2 separate regions of the Homo sapiens genome follow, and region 2 is linked to region 1. The links are contacts of gene promoters, found by promoter capture Hi-C in human tissues and cell types (Jung and others, 2019). All regions are on one chromosome and are shown on one strand. The core of a region is centred on a gene start or on the middle of the fragment in contact, and the rest is flanking DNA. Distances in the headings are between cores, read along the strand shown. Region 1 holds the start of CHRDL2 (chordin like 2). Region 2 overlaps ARRB1 (arrestin beta 1).

Region 1 (6,919 bases), core at 2,620-5,119:
TATTGAAAATACAATGTAGTAAGTGCTATAACAAAGAAGTATGGAGCAGAACGGAGCTAACTCAGAGACCAGCAAAGAGGATTCAGAGCACCTAGAATACAAGTGTCGGTGTCTGTCTTGTTCTCCACTGTGTCCCTAGCACCTAGCACTATGTCTGGCCCAGAATTTGCACTCAATAATTGTTGCATGAGTGAAGGAGTTAGCAATTACCTTAACCCTTGAAAAATAAGTAAGCTTGCCAGACAAATCAAAGTGAGTACAGAGAGGGCATTCCAGGGCGAAGAAACAGTGTTTGCAGAGTCATGGAGGCCCAAGAGCTTGGCACATTTGAAGACAATGTTTAATATGGCATGAGGGGTCCCGGGACCCAGACTGGTAAAGGTGAAGGTATGGAAGAGGGGTTCTCTGCCCCAAATCTCTAGAGAGCTCTCAAAAGACAAAAGGACTTGGCTTGTTCTGTATAGCCCTGGGGACAGAGTGAGGGGCAACACAGGCAGTCACAGAGAATCAGATTTCAGTTTAATATAAAGAACTTTCTAACAGAGCTGTCCAACAGTGGAATGGGCTGCCTTGGCAGGCAATGAGCAAGTTCGCTATGAAGGAAGAAAGCAGATGCCAGATAAACTCTTAGTGCAACAAACTGCTATGGGGAGATGCATTTTTTTTTCCTGACTAGATTTTGGAAGAATTTATTCAGTCTCCTTTTTAAAAGGGTATTAAATAATATATAGACAACTCTCTTCAATAGTATTTCTACAGAAGACACAAAGACTTTCTTTCTTTCTTTTTTTCTTTTTGAGACAGTCTTGCTCTGGAGTGCAGTGGTGCAAACACGGCTCACTGCAGCCTCAACCTCCTGGGCTCAAGCGATCCTCCTGCCTCAGCCTTCAGAGTAGCTAGGACTACAGGTGCGTGCCACTATGCCCAGCTATCTTTTTTACTTTTTGTAGAGACGAAGTTGGGGGGGGGTCTCACTTTGTTGCCCAGGCTGGTCTTAAACTCCTAGGCTCAAGCCATCTTCCCACCTCAGCCTCCCAAAGTGCTGGGATTACAGGTGTGAGCCACTGGGCCCGGCCTGACACAGAAACTTTCAAGTGTTTGTTTCTTATGTCAATCATTGACTAAAGCTGAGGCCAATAGTGGGCTGAAGGCTTTTCCAATCACTGAGGTCTTCACTCATTCATGTAGCAATTATTTATTCAGTATCTGTGTGTCAAGGACTTTGCTAAATGCTCGAATTACAGATATAAATTTCAAAAGGCACCTGCACTCACAGTGCAGGGTAAAAATGCAAATAAATACTTACACTCCAACAGCTACAATTCAAAGTGCTATGGGAAACACAAAGACTAAACATTGACTTTGCCTGGGGGACTCAGGGAAGACCTTGGAGTGGAGGTGACTCAACTGACCTTTGGAAAGTTAAATGGGATTCACTAGATGGAGGAAGAGAGAGTCCAGGCAGAAGGAAAACATGTGTGAGGATATGGAGGTGCGACGACGCATGGTCAGTTTGGGGAGGTGAGCGGTTGGCCAAAGTGTAGGGTAGGTGGCAATGGTAGATTGGAACTAAAATATGCGTGGTGTTCAATTCAGTGCTGAAAATTTTAGATTTTAACCTATAAATGATAGGAAGTGAATAATAGGTTTTATGTGGGAAAGTGATGTGATCAGATTTGTCAGTAGAAATGATCAGCATAGTTCTCAAGGCAGGTGTGAGGAAAATAGATAGGAGAGATCCAGATTAGGGGGAGGAGACCTGGTAAGAGGCTGTTGGGAAAGTTCAAGTAAGGAATGAAGATGGCCGGGTGCGGTGGCTCATGCTTGTAATCCCAGCACTTTGGGAGGCTGAGGTGAGTGGATCAGCTGAGGTCAGGAGTTCAAGACCAGCTTGGCCAACATGGCGAAACCCCATCTCTACTAAAAATACAAAAATTATAGGTGGTGCATGCCTGTAATCCCAGCTACTCGGGAGGCTGAGGCAGAAGAATCGCTTGAACCCAGAGGCAGAGGTTGCAGTGAGCCCAGATCACGCCACTGCACTCCAGCCTGGGCGACAAGCGCAAAACTCCATCTCAAAAAAAAAAAAAAAAGGAATGAAGTTGGCCTCAACTCTGGGGATAATAGGGATGGACAGGAGGGCTGAGATGGTGGAGGCCTTTTTTGAAGTATGATGGGCAGGATGTAGGGGAACCCATCTTAATCCACTTCTTACATCTAAGACATGAATATATGTGCACAGCACATTTTAAACAAAGAGAAAGGAAAAGATCACTGTCCCAAACCCTTGGGATGAGATTGTTTATGCAATTAAGCAGCACAGGATTTAACTCTGAGATCCCTGGAAGCAAAGGCAAAAAGGGAAGCATGGTGACATGCATAAGCTTGCACTATCTGTTAAAATAAAGAATACTCAGGGGAAAGGAAGAGACTGGCCAGATTAGAGTAGAAATTAAGCCTGAAGGGCACTGGACAGATCATGTTTGTCCCTGATCCTGAGAGCCCTAGGAAGGGCCAGTTTGGGGATCACTGGTTCCTCCTACTGCTCTCTTTTGGAGGGTGGAGATCTTGGGGGTAATACCCTGAAAGCACAGTGCAATGGGGAGCCCAGCCTTGGCCCAGAAAGATACCTTTACAGCCAGCCAGCCAAGTGTTTAAACCCGGAAATATGATTCCCTACCAGAGTGGGATATGGCTCAACATCCCTTCCCACCTCATACTCCTCTGGCACTCTTTGGAGTCTCCATTAGCTCTTCAAGAGAAGCTGGGCAGAAAGTTGAGGTCCAAAGCAAGGATAGATGTATTTACTCAAAGTGGCCCAACAAGTTACGGATGGAGCCAGGACAGTGACTCTGCCCTTTTGATTTCAGAGCTTGTGTGTTTCTGGTCTGGCCAGAGCTGGCTATTCTCTTCTTAGTGTCCTATTAGTGCATGTGTTCATTCAACACAAGAGATGGAGCACCATTTGAGGGCTGGAGGGTGTCAGGGCCCTGTCCTCAGGGAGCTCCCCTTCTGGTGGGAAAGAAAACTCTTTGACAATCAGCTCTCCCTAAAGATGACTGAAGGTGACCATCACTCCCAGAGAAGTGCAGGCCTCACCTGCAAAGGCAAAGGAGAGATCTTGCCTTGATTCGGGAGTGGGAGCGGGGAGCAGAGGAAGACCTCCAGGGGAAGGCACAGGATCCCTATGGGCTGACTTTCCTGAGAATGGCGCATGGGCAGACGGAGTGGGGACAGGGGCCACTGGTATTGTAGGCACCTGGAATTAGGACCCCTTCTCTTTGTGGGGTGAGTGTTTCGACGTTCATTACCTTATTTCATCTTAGCAACACTCGTGGGAAGATAGTAGAGATATTTTAAGATCTTAAAATGCCCATTTTAAAGCTGGGAAAACAGACTCTCCGGTGGCGTGCTGTAGACCACAAACTGAATTAAGAACGCCAGTGTTCTGATTCCATCCATCTGCGGAGTTCCGGGCACGCACCGCCGAGCGCCTTACCCTGAGCCTTCCCGGTACCCGCAGCCCCGACAGCTCAGCCTTCCCCACCTGAAAGTTCCACCTGAGGTCTCCCTCAACTCTGCCCTCCTGCATTCTTGGCGTCGCGGGGAGTCAGGGGTTAAACCCCGTGGCCCGCGTGGCCCCTTCCCCCTCCGCAGCCCCCTCGCCTCCACTCGGCGCCGCGCCTGGAGCGTCCGTCCCGGAGACCCGCACAAGAGAGGAGGGGAAAAAGTGGGCCTGTTTCTCGGGTGGCCAATCCACCGAGCCCGCGGTGCCCCAGAGGAGGCGCCAGCGCTAGGCCAGCGCCAGGCCGGGCTGCCTGCTTCCCGCGGCAAAGTACAAATGCGCCCGAGCGCGGCGCCTGAAGCCCTTGGCGAGCACAGCCGGCCCGCGCTCAGCCTCCCTCCGCGGCCGCCGCGCCGCCGCCGCTGCTGGGACCGCCGCCCCGCCGGGCCCCAGGCCCCCGCGGCCCGACCCCGAGCCCACCGAGCAGGGGGCGCCGGCCGCCTCTAGCCCGCGCGCCCGCAACACCCGCTGGTCCCGCGCGCCTCGCCCGGCGCTGCGCGCTCGGCAGACGCCGGTCCTCTCCCTGCTTTCTCCTCCTCTCCCTCTCACCTTCCCCCTTTCTTTGATCGCCTCTCCCTTCTGCTGGACCTTCCTTCGTCTCTCCATCTCTCCCTCCTTTCCCCGCGTTCTCTTTCCACCTTTCTCTTCTTCCCACCTTAGACCTCCCTTCCTGCCCTCCTTTCCTGCCCACCGCTGCTTCCTGGCCCTTCTCCGACCCCGCTCTAGCAGCAGACCTCCTGGGGTCTGTGGGTTGATCTGTGGCCCCTGTGCCTCCGTGTCCTTTTCGTCTCCCTTCCTCCCGACTCCGCTCCCGGACCAGCGGCCTGACCCTGGGGAAAGGATGGTTCCCGAGGTGAGGGTCCTCTCCTCCTTGCTGGGACTCGCGCTGCTCTGGTTCCCCCTGGACTCCCACGCTCGAGCCCGTAAGTAGACCGGGAGGCTGGGTGGGCAGAGGAGGGATGCGGCCCCTGGAATGTGAGGGACAGCGCCAGGACCTGGACCCCAAGCTCTTCTGACAGCCGTCCAGGCAGCACCTGTGCCGGAGGGGTGGAGACTCCGTGAGGACCAGTATGGGCCGGGGGACCGGAGGAACTCGGCACAACTCAGAACTGAGAGAGGGCTGCTGCCAGGGACCTGAGGAGGGGCACCAAGGGCAGCGGGGGGAGAGGGCAGGGCACTGTGTTTTGGGTTGGGGGAGGACTTACTGTTCCTAGGAGGGAGTCGGGTATGTCTGGCTACAGGTAAGGAGTGTGATGGAGAAGAAAAGGCTTTTTGCCTTTGGAAAGAGCCATTGGACAGAAATGAGAGGTAATTAGGATAACCTTCCCATTCTTTTCTCTCTTTTGATCCTCGCAACTCTCCAGTGAGGTGGGTATTATCATTCGCACTTTACAGATGAGAAAACTTAGGCTGAGCAAGGAGGAACTTGCTAAAACTTACAGAGCGGGTAAGCCATCCAAAGCCAGAACTCTAGTTCCAGATCCCATGCTTTATTCCCTGCCTCACATTGTCTAGAAGGAACCCTGAATTTGCAGTGTGAGACTCTGGGAGGCGGCAGGGCACAGTGAGATAGACCAGCGTCTTCACCATCCCAGCCCCGCTGAATGCCAGCTGCTGGGAGGCCGTCACAGAGTGCACCTCTCTGACCCTGGGTTTCCTAATCTATAAAGCGGAAGTAAAAATCCTAGGAGAGTTGATAGGATTAAATTAGAGAAAAGAGGTAAAGCAGCTAGCACAAGACTGGTGCTTGATAGCTTCCAAAAAAAATCAGTTCCCAATTATGCTTTTCCACATAGATACAGTGTAACATCAAACAGGTTACATCATCAATCTGAGCCTCAGTTTCCTCACTGCGCCCACAATAGGCTGGTGGTCCCCCCTCCCCATGCCCAGCCAATCTCTTAGAATGCTGTGAGGATGGAAAACCAAACCACATTCTCTTAATCAGAAGAAAGGAGCTTCATTCAAGCAGTGGGTTTCTCCAGGACATACATGGCACAGCCTGGGATTAAGACCCTGCGTTCCCAACTCCTAGTCTGGTGCTCTTTCCTCTCCCCAGCTCAGCTCCTCCATCTATGCCTTTCTTTTGCACGTGACATTCTGGAGCTGGTAGTGCTGGACTTTGTTACGGTCTTGTTTCTGCTCATGAGAGCAGGCTGAGTGTCTCTGGCCTGCCAGCAGCATGAGACTCACATAAGTCTTTCCATTACATAGAACAAGTAATGGAATTAGCTCAGTGTTGTATTCAAATCCTGGCCGTGCCCCTTAGAGCTGTGTGACTTTTTGTAAGTCATAACTTCTCTGAGCCTCAATTTCCTAATCTGTCTAAGAGAGATACTAATCCAGAACTTGCAGGGTTCTTGGGAGGATTAAAGGAGGTAACGGATTAAAGTGCCCAGCACAATGCTGTGTACTTAATAAATGTCTCTTCCGCTTTCTTGAACCCTGAGGGTTTCCTCCTAACACCTGCCTCCTATTTCTTAAAAGAGACTTTGCACAGGATGCCCTCCATGCCTGCCTCCCATCCACTTGACACCTTGTTCTTAGTCCCTGCAATTTTTTCTCCAGATATCATTGCCCTTGATGCATCTTGGAAAGATGTCCTAGAACCAGACTGTTATCCTACCCACACCCTGCTTCTTTGCTTCCCATATCTTGTCAGCCTTTCATGGCCTTGCCTAGGTCACACCTCTTCAAGCAAACTCTCCCCGGTGACTTGATCCACTCTGATCTCCCTCGTCTGTGCCTCCCTGGCCTTCAGCTCTGTACCTCTCAGCAGGTCCTGCCAGTATTCCATCTTCCCTACAGCCTTGTAAATACAGATCTCCAGACATGTGAGAAAAAGACTTGGAGCCAACTCATTAGGGTGAGGTGGACTGGCACTCATTGGAGAATGTTAAGATTCCTGGATGTTAGAGCTGGTGAAACTATCAAAAACCATCTGCTTCTACCCATCAATATACCTATACTTAGAGTTAAATTGAAGCCCAGAAGAGAAGAGTGACTTGCCCAAGGTCACACAGCAAATTTATTAAAGAAAAGAACAAAAGCCAGGCACAGTGGTACACACCTGTAGTTCCAGTCACCAGCTACTTGGGAGGCTGAGAGGGAGAGGAACCCTTGAGCTCAGGAGTTCAAGGCTAGCCTGGGGAACATGGTGAGACCTCATCTCTTAAAAAACAACAACAACAACAACAACAAAAAACAGAACAGACCTGGGTCCTGGACCCTGATTTGTCACTTATTGGCTGTGTGAGTTGGGACAGACCACTTCTTTATCTGAGCCTCATTTTGTTTGGTGCTGACAGCCTATGAATCTAGAAAGGATCCTATAGTCATTTGCCAAGATGCTAT
Region 2 (6,919 bases), core at 3,046-5,545, 540 kb before region 1:
TCCCTCCCTAGTGCGCCAGTATGCAGACATCTGCCTTTTCAACACAGCTCAGTACAAGTGCCCTGTTGCCATGGAAGAGGCTGAGTAAGTGGGCACAAGTCTGGCCTTGGGCGTATGGGATTGGGTGGGAAAAAGAGAAGCTCTAGGTGTCCTGTTACAGGTCCAGGTGGCTCTTCTCCACCTGGCAGAGGGCTGGGCCTCAGACTTCCTTGCCACTCAGAGTAGATGATCCCGAAGAGCCTTTTAGAAACCATCCACCTGATTTAGCTTCAAGAAAATGCATGCTACAGTCAAGGAAGAGACCCACTAAAACTAGAGTGACAAAACAATAGCTAATGAATGTAAGGGGATTGGGGTTGTGAGAAGAAATAATTACGTTGTACAAGAAACCTAGGTTGAAGGGAAATACTTTGTTCTTGGCTTCCTGGTAGCCAGGGCAAAGTGGGTAAGGCACTAGGTACACAGCTCTTGTCTGATAAAGGGGTAATCCAACTCATTGGGAAAAAGGGGTTGTGTGTGGGAGTGCAGAGAATAATTACACACAAAAAAATCATCTAGGTTTGAGGAGAACTGCTATGGTTGAGCATGGATCGAACTTTGTCCCAGGCTTGTTGGCAGCTAAGGCAAGTGGAGAGATCTGAAGTGAAACATCTTTACTTACCTAAAGGAAGTAAATGCTCCCATTCAAAGACATACACATTTTTTTTTCCTGGCCCTGCAAGTAATTTCTTGGGGCAATTATACCTGATATAATTTTACATGTATATGTGTATTTGTTTATGTATAATTCCAATCAGTATTTCTTGCAACTGAAAATATTTTTAAAATGTTACTACATGGCCTTTGAAATAGTTTTTAATGTCCTATAGGTGAACATGCTATGATTAGATCAAGCTTTCTCTGGTTACTGGATATTTTTCATATCCACTGTTGATTTTTTCAAAAAAATCAGAGCTATGAGGCATAGATTCCTGATGGTAAAGTGAAGTGATCTAGAACCAGAGTAACATATAATCCCTAAAGAGTAGAAAATCCCAACCACTGCAGATGGTGCCAGCGTCTGCATAACGAATACCAGCAGGGATGGCTGGGGAGGCATTTGCACTCACAGACTTGTTTACTTCTCAGGAAGCGCTGTGGGGCTGGGGTTGCTGCTGCCCCAGTATGTAGAGGAGGAAGTGGCTCAGAGAGATGTGACTTGCAAGTTAGCAAGCAGCAAAGCTGGGGCTGGAACACGGTCGTCCGACTCCAAGGCTTGTTCACTATCTGCTGCATGACAGCTCTCTCATTGGAAAGGATGGGGGATAGAGCAAAAGCAAGTAAAAATTGGACAATCAAAACACCCTATATATGATGGATGTGATCAAGCAAGTAAAGTTTTAATTGTTGAGCCTAGATGGTGGGTATATGGGTGCCCAAATAGCTTCATTTATGGTTTATGTGTAGCTATAATTTTTTCTTTTTAAAATGTGTTTAGAGACAGGGCTGGTGCTCACGCCTATAATCCCAGCACTTGGGGAGGCTGAGGCAGGCAGATCACTTGAGGTCAGGAGTTTGAGACCATCCTGGCCAACATGGCAAAACCTCATCTCTACTAAAAATACAAAAATTAGTCGGGCATGGTGGCGCGCCCCTGTGATCCCAGCTACTTGGGAGGCTGAGGTAGGAGAACTGCTTCAACCTGGGAGGTGGAGGTTCCAGTGAGCCAGGATCGCACTACTGTACTCTAGCCTGGGCGACAGAGCAAGACTCTGTCTCAAAAAAATAAAATAAAATAAAATAAAATAAAATAAAATAAATTTAAATTAAATTTGTTTAGAGACAGAGTTTCACTCTGTTGCCCAGGCTGGAGTGCAGTGGTATGATCATGGCTCACTACAGCCAGCCTCGAACTCCTGGGCTCAAGTGATCCTCCTGCCTCAGCCTCCCAAGTAGCTAGGACTACAGGTGTGCACCACCATATCAGGCTAATGTTTAAAATTTTTTGTAGCGATGGGGTCTTGCTATGTTGCCCAGGCTGGTCTCAAACTCCTAGCCTCAAGCAATCCTCCTGTCAGCCTCTCAAGTTGCTGGGATTACAGGCATGAGCAACTGTGCCTGCTGTGGCTGTACTTTTTTTTTTTTTTTTTTTGAGATGGAGTCTTGCTCTGTCACCCAGGCTGGAGTGCAGTGGAGCAATCTCGGCTCACTGTAAGCTCCACCTCCCAGGTTCATGCCATTCTCCTGGCTCAGCCTCCTGAGTAGCTGGAACTACAGGCGTCCACCACCATGCCCGGCTAATTTTTTTGTATTTTTAGTAGAGACGGGGTTTCACCTTGTTAGCCAGGATGGTCTCCAACTCCTGACCTCGTGATCTACCCGCCTCGGCCTCCCAAAATGCTGGGATTACAGGCGTGAGCCACTGCACCCGGCTGGCTGTAATTCTTTAAATAAATGTGCTTTTTAGCACTGTGCTGCTTGACTAGGATAATCTTTTAGAATATCCGAGATTCAGTCCTGTTTGTGCGTAGAATGTAGATGTGCCTCTTTTGAGTGGCAGTGGTCTCCTTGCCCGAGCTGGGCTGGCCCAAGTGGTCCGTGTGTCTGGGGGACAGAGGTTGGGAGAGGGAGACTTGGAGCAGGCTCAGACTAGATATTCTGCTGGGCTGGAGATCAGGGCTGGGGTTGGCTCTGGGGAGGGCCATCTCCACAGCTGCTTCCTTTCTTCCCAGTGACACTGTGGCACCCAGCTCGACGTTCTGCAAGGTCTACACACTGACCCCCTTCCTAGCCAATAACCGAGAGAAGCGGGGCCTCGCCTTGGACGGGAAGCTCAAGCACGAAGACACGAACTTGGCCTCTAGCACCCTGTGAGGACCTGCCCTCCTAGCCCTGGGCTCCTAGTGCATCTTGCCTGATGGGGCCACACCCTCCTTGGTCCCCCCAGTTCAAAGACAAGGCTCAGGCTACCCTCTCCATAGCCTTGTCAGGGCCTGTCCTCAGGTGCTTGACTTGTCAGGGAAGCTGCCTCCTTACTCCCAACCCTACCCAGGGGTGACTGAGAGAATAAGATGGACCACTAGGCCAGCTCACTCAGGCAGTGCTGGGCTCTGCTACCATGCCTGGGGGAGGGCAACCTGGGAAGGCTTCCTGCAAGAGGTGGCAGCTTCTGACGTAATGCCTTCAGTCAGATGGGGTGTCCCTGAGGAGAGACCAGGGTGGTGAGCTGGGTTAGACCCAACATGGGGTGCCCCTCCAAGTCAGGGGTCCCAGGGCATCTGGTCACTCCTGCTGCACAGTCATCGTGGACGCCTCTAGGCTACTCTGCTCCAGCAGAGCCCTGGCTATGGGGATGCCATCTTGCCCTCTTGCCAGTGTGGTCCTTCAGTGGGGCTTTGGCCTACGTCTAGAGCAGCCGCCACTCCCAGCACAGACTCAGCTCTCTTCAGCAGCCCCTGCACAGCCTCCCACTTACCTGAAGCTTTTTGCCCTGTCTCCACCCTGGCTCACACCCTACCCATCTTCAAGACCCAGCTGAAGCACCACCTCTGCGGAGAAGTCCTTCTCTGATGGCCCCCACCCCACCCCACCCCAGCTGCCTCGCCCTCTGTGAACTCCCCGTGTGGCCCTTTCTGCCCATGGGTTGCTGAGAGAAGCAGAATCCATCTGAGGGGAGGAGGAGCCTGGCCCTCATGGCGGGGACGCTGGCCTGGGCAGGGAGAGGGGCTCAGCAGGGCCACACAGTGAGCGAGTCTCACAGTCAGACTTGGAACCGGGGCTCTGGGTCCCTGCTACCTAAGGGCACTGCTCGCCTTCCTCATCTCCACTGGGCTCTATTGGACATGGTAGCTGAGTGGCTAGCCAGATGGGGGATGGACGGCCACTGCCCCCCAGCATACCCACCCCTGAGGTGTCTCGCCCACCTGGCAAGGCCCCTGAACTGGCTCCCCTGTGTCACTTTGCAGGTTGAGGGAAGGTGCCAACCGTGAGATCCTGGGGATCATTGTTTCCTACAAAGTGAAAGTGAAGCTGGTGGTGTCTCGGGGCGGGTGAGTGCTCCAGCCAAGCCCAAGACCCCGGAGTGCAGAGGGGAGCGTCCCAGGTGCCCACAGGCCCCTGCCCCATTCTGCCTGTTTGCAGCCCTTTTAGCTGCATCCACCTTGGAGGAGGAACCTCCTGTCCCTTCTTTTCCTCCCTTCTGTTCCTCTTTCTCCCCCGCCCGCTTTCCCTCTCTTCCTTCCTTGGCCCTCAGCCCCTCTCTTACCCCCACCCATCTCTTTCTCTCTCTCCTCCTCCTCTATCCTAGGTCTGGGCTCGCACTGAGGATTGGCCATGCCCAGGGGACGGCGTCCTCAGAGTCTTTGCTGTGGGGTCCCCAGGGGTGCCATCTCCTTATCACACTTTGGGCATAGCACCCACCCCCATGCATGCCCAAGCTGATTTTCTGAGGAAACAGCTAAAAGGGCTCAGAACCCAGAGCTGGATTGGGGATTTGCTAGTCAGCTTTCCCATTTTACAGATGGTGAAACAGAGGCCCAGACAGTGCCCCAAACATTGCCTGAAATCTCCTCTCCTAACTCAGGTCATAGTGGTGGACCAGACTGCCCTGCCCTGGAGCATAGTTTGGTGGAAGCTCAGGGAGAAAAACAAACAAACAAACTACTGTGTTTCTTTTTTGTAACTTAATTCATAAATTTCTATGAAAAGATTGAAAAGCTAAATCCCATTAGACATTGGGTCTCCTTGATTATTAGAAGAATGCCTCTTGGCAGGTGGCAGTATGTAATCCTGACCTTATATAATAGGACATCTCAAAATTACAAATCCCAAATCCTGTGTCTGGTGACCTTTCAGGACCCACAGTCCCTCAAACATTCTTGGCAACCCCGGAGTCCTTCCCTCTGCCTTTAGATAGTCCGGCCTCCCTTGGGACAGGCAGCACTGGGGTTAATTTTTACACTGCCTTGACAGATGAGGATCCTGGGGCTCAGGGGTTTGCTGAGCTGGGTCTGGATCCCAGTCCCTCGGGGCAGGGCTAATGCCATTTCGGTGTATCCCTGAAAGAGCAGTCAGGGCTGTGCAGGGGGGTGGGTGGGAGTGTGTCCCGTGGGTCTTCTCTATCCGGGGGACAGCAGAAGTGGTGAATGAATGTGCTTTTTGTTTTCTTCCTCTCTGAACTCTCTCCTGACCACTTCTCCTGCCTCCTCTGACCCACCCAGCCTGTTGGGAGATCTTGCATCCAGGTAAATTCCTCCCTTCCACCTGGTTCACCCACCTTCCTGGAGGGCCTGGAGCCCATTGGCTTGACTGACCAGAATCACAGGGCACTGGGTTGGAAGGAATCTTAGTGGTCATTTCAGATAGCCAGGTTCAGGTGTGAGCTGGGAGACACAATTTCTCCTTAACAAACCTCACCTTGCTCTTCCATCCCACCTGAGTGACAGGGATCTTTACAGAGAGCAAAGCCTGATTACACTGATACAGGGAGTGGCCCCCAAGAGAGCTGTCTGAATTACTGATCACCTGAATTATAGGAGCTTTTGGAGAAATGCAGACTTCATGGCTTTCAAACTTCTACACTAGTGAGGAGGGAACTGCTGGCCAAGTGTTGCTAAGGAGAGGTCCTCAGGAGATCCTATTTTGTAAACAAGGTCTCCTTGCAGCCAGCTGGATGCACTTATATTCCAAAAATGCATGTACCCCAAACACAGCAGTTTGGCCTCCTTCTGTCACAAGATGGCAGTGTGGCTCATCCTAAGAAATCTTAAACTAATTTGACAGGTGAAATTCATTCAATTCAATTCAGTTCCATATCATTCAGCAAAGATTTCCTCAACCCAGGCTTGCGTCCAGGCTGGTGCTGAGTGCCAGAGTCCCAGAGAGGAATCAGATGTGGTCCCTGACCTTATCGTTCCTGGCCCGGTAGAAGGTTAAGATCCAGATTCTTCCACTAAAATGTTGGCAAACCCAGTCTTCCACCAGCTCCATTCTGAAGCAATCCCCAAAGCAAAAGGAAAAAAAAAAGAGAAGGAAAAAAAGGCCAAATAGCTCTGACAGCCTTATAAAACCCCCAGGTTCCCAATGAGGGGACTTAAGTAACGATTCTGGCAGGCACAAGCTTCACATTTTTATTTTTATTTTTTATTCTGAGACAAGGTCTGATTCTATTGCCCAGACTGGAGTGCAGTGGCACAAACTTGGTTCACTGTAACCTTCTCTGCCTCCTGGGTGGAAGCCATCCTCCCAACTCAGCCTCCTGAGTAGCTGGGACTACAGGTGTGCTCTACTATGCCCAGCTAATTTTTTTTTTTTTTTTTGAGACAGAATCTCACTCTGTCGGGTAGGCTGGAGTGCAGTGGCACGATCTTGGCTCACTGCAACCTCTGCCTCCCAGGTTCAAGCAGTTCTCTGCCTCAGCCTCCCAAGTAGCTGGGATTATAGGCACCCGCCACCACACCCGGCTAATTTTTGTATTTTTAGTAGAGGCAGGATTTCACTATCTTGGCCAGGCTGGTCTTAAACTCCTGACCTCATGATCCACCCGCCTCGGCCTCCCAAAGTGCTGGGATTACAGGCGTGAGCCACCGCGCCCAGCCTAATTTTTGTATTTTTAGTAGAGATGGGTGGTGGTGGCAGTGTCTCACCAGGTTGCCCAGGCTGGTCTCGAACTCCTGAGCTCAAGGGATCTGCCCGCCTTGGCCTCCCAAAGTGCTAGGATCACAGGCGTGAGCCACTGCGCCTGGTCAAGCTTCACAGTTTAACTCAGCTCTTTAGCTGCCTCATCTCCCAGAAGTTCCCGTGGTTCTAGAAGACAGGCTTTGTTCCAAGTTGAGCTCAGTGAGACTCAAAGCTAGAAAGTGCTGCACCAGCGGGTGGCGAGGCTGGTGGAACAGACCTTTCTAATTGCACGGCTTGTGCCTCTGACCACTCCATTCCCTGT

Evidence for each region. Contacts are between HindIII fragments. The study calls those that stand out against the background at their distance.
Region 2: a contact is called between a fragment that was not itself captured here and the fragment with the promoter of CHRDL2 in region 1, in 1 of the 25 tissues and cell types used here (lymphoblastoid cells).

Annotation. Positions count from the first base shown.
Region 1 is chr11:74,728,376-74,735,294 of GRCh38, reverse strand. It overlaps CHRDL2 (chordin like 2), which reads left to right and starts at 3,869. Exons shown (of 11, transcript NM_001278473.3): 1 at 3,869-4,488. The coding sequence starts at 4,407. The HindIII fragment of the contact is 7,141 bases long and covers 1,310-6,919 here.
Region 2 is chr11:75,270,004-75,276,922 of GRCh38, reverse strand. ARRB1 (arrestin beta 1) reads left to right here. Exons shown (of 16, transcript NM_004041.5): 10 at 12-84; 11 at 2,712-2,849; 12 at 3,945-4,028; 13 at 5,199-5,222. Among named protein-coding and RNA genes, the nearest start is that of TPBGL, 33 kb to the right of the region's middle. RefSeq lists an enhancer at 3,863-4,364. The HindIII fragment of the contact is 4,235 bases long and covers 2,178-6,412 here.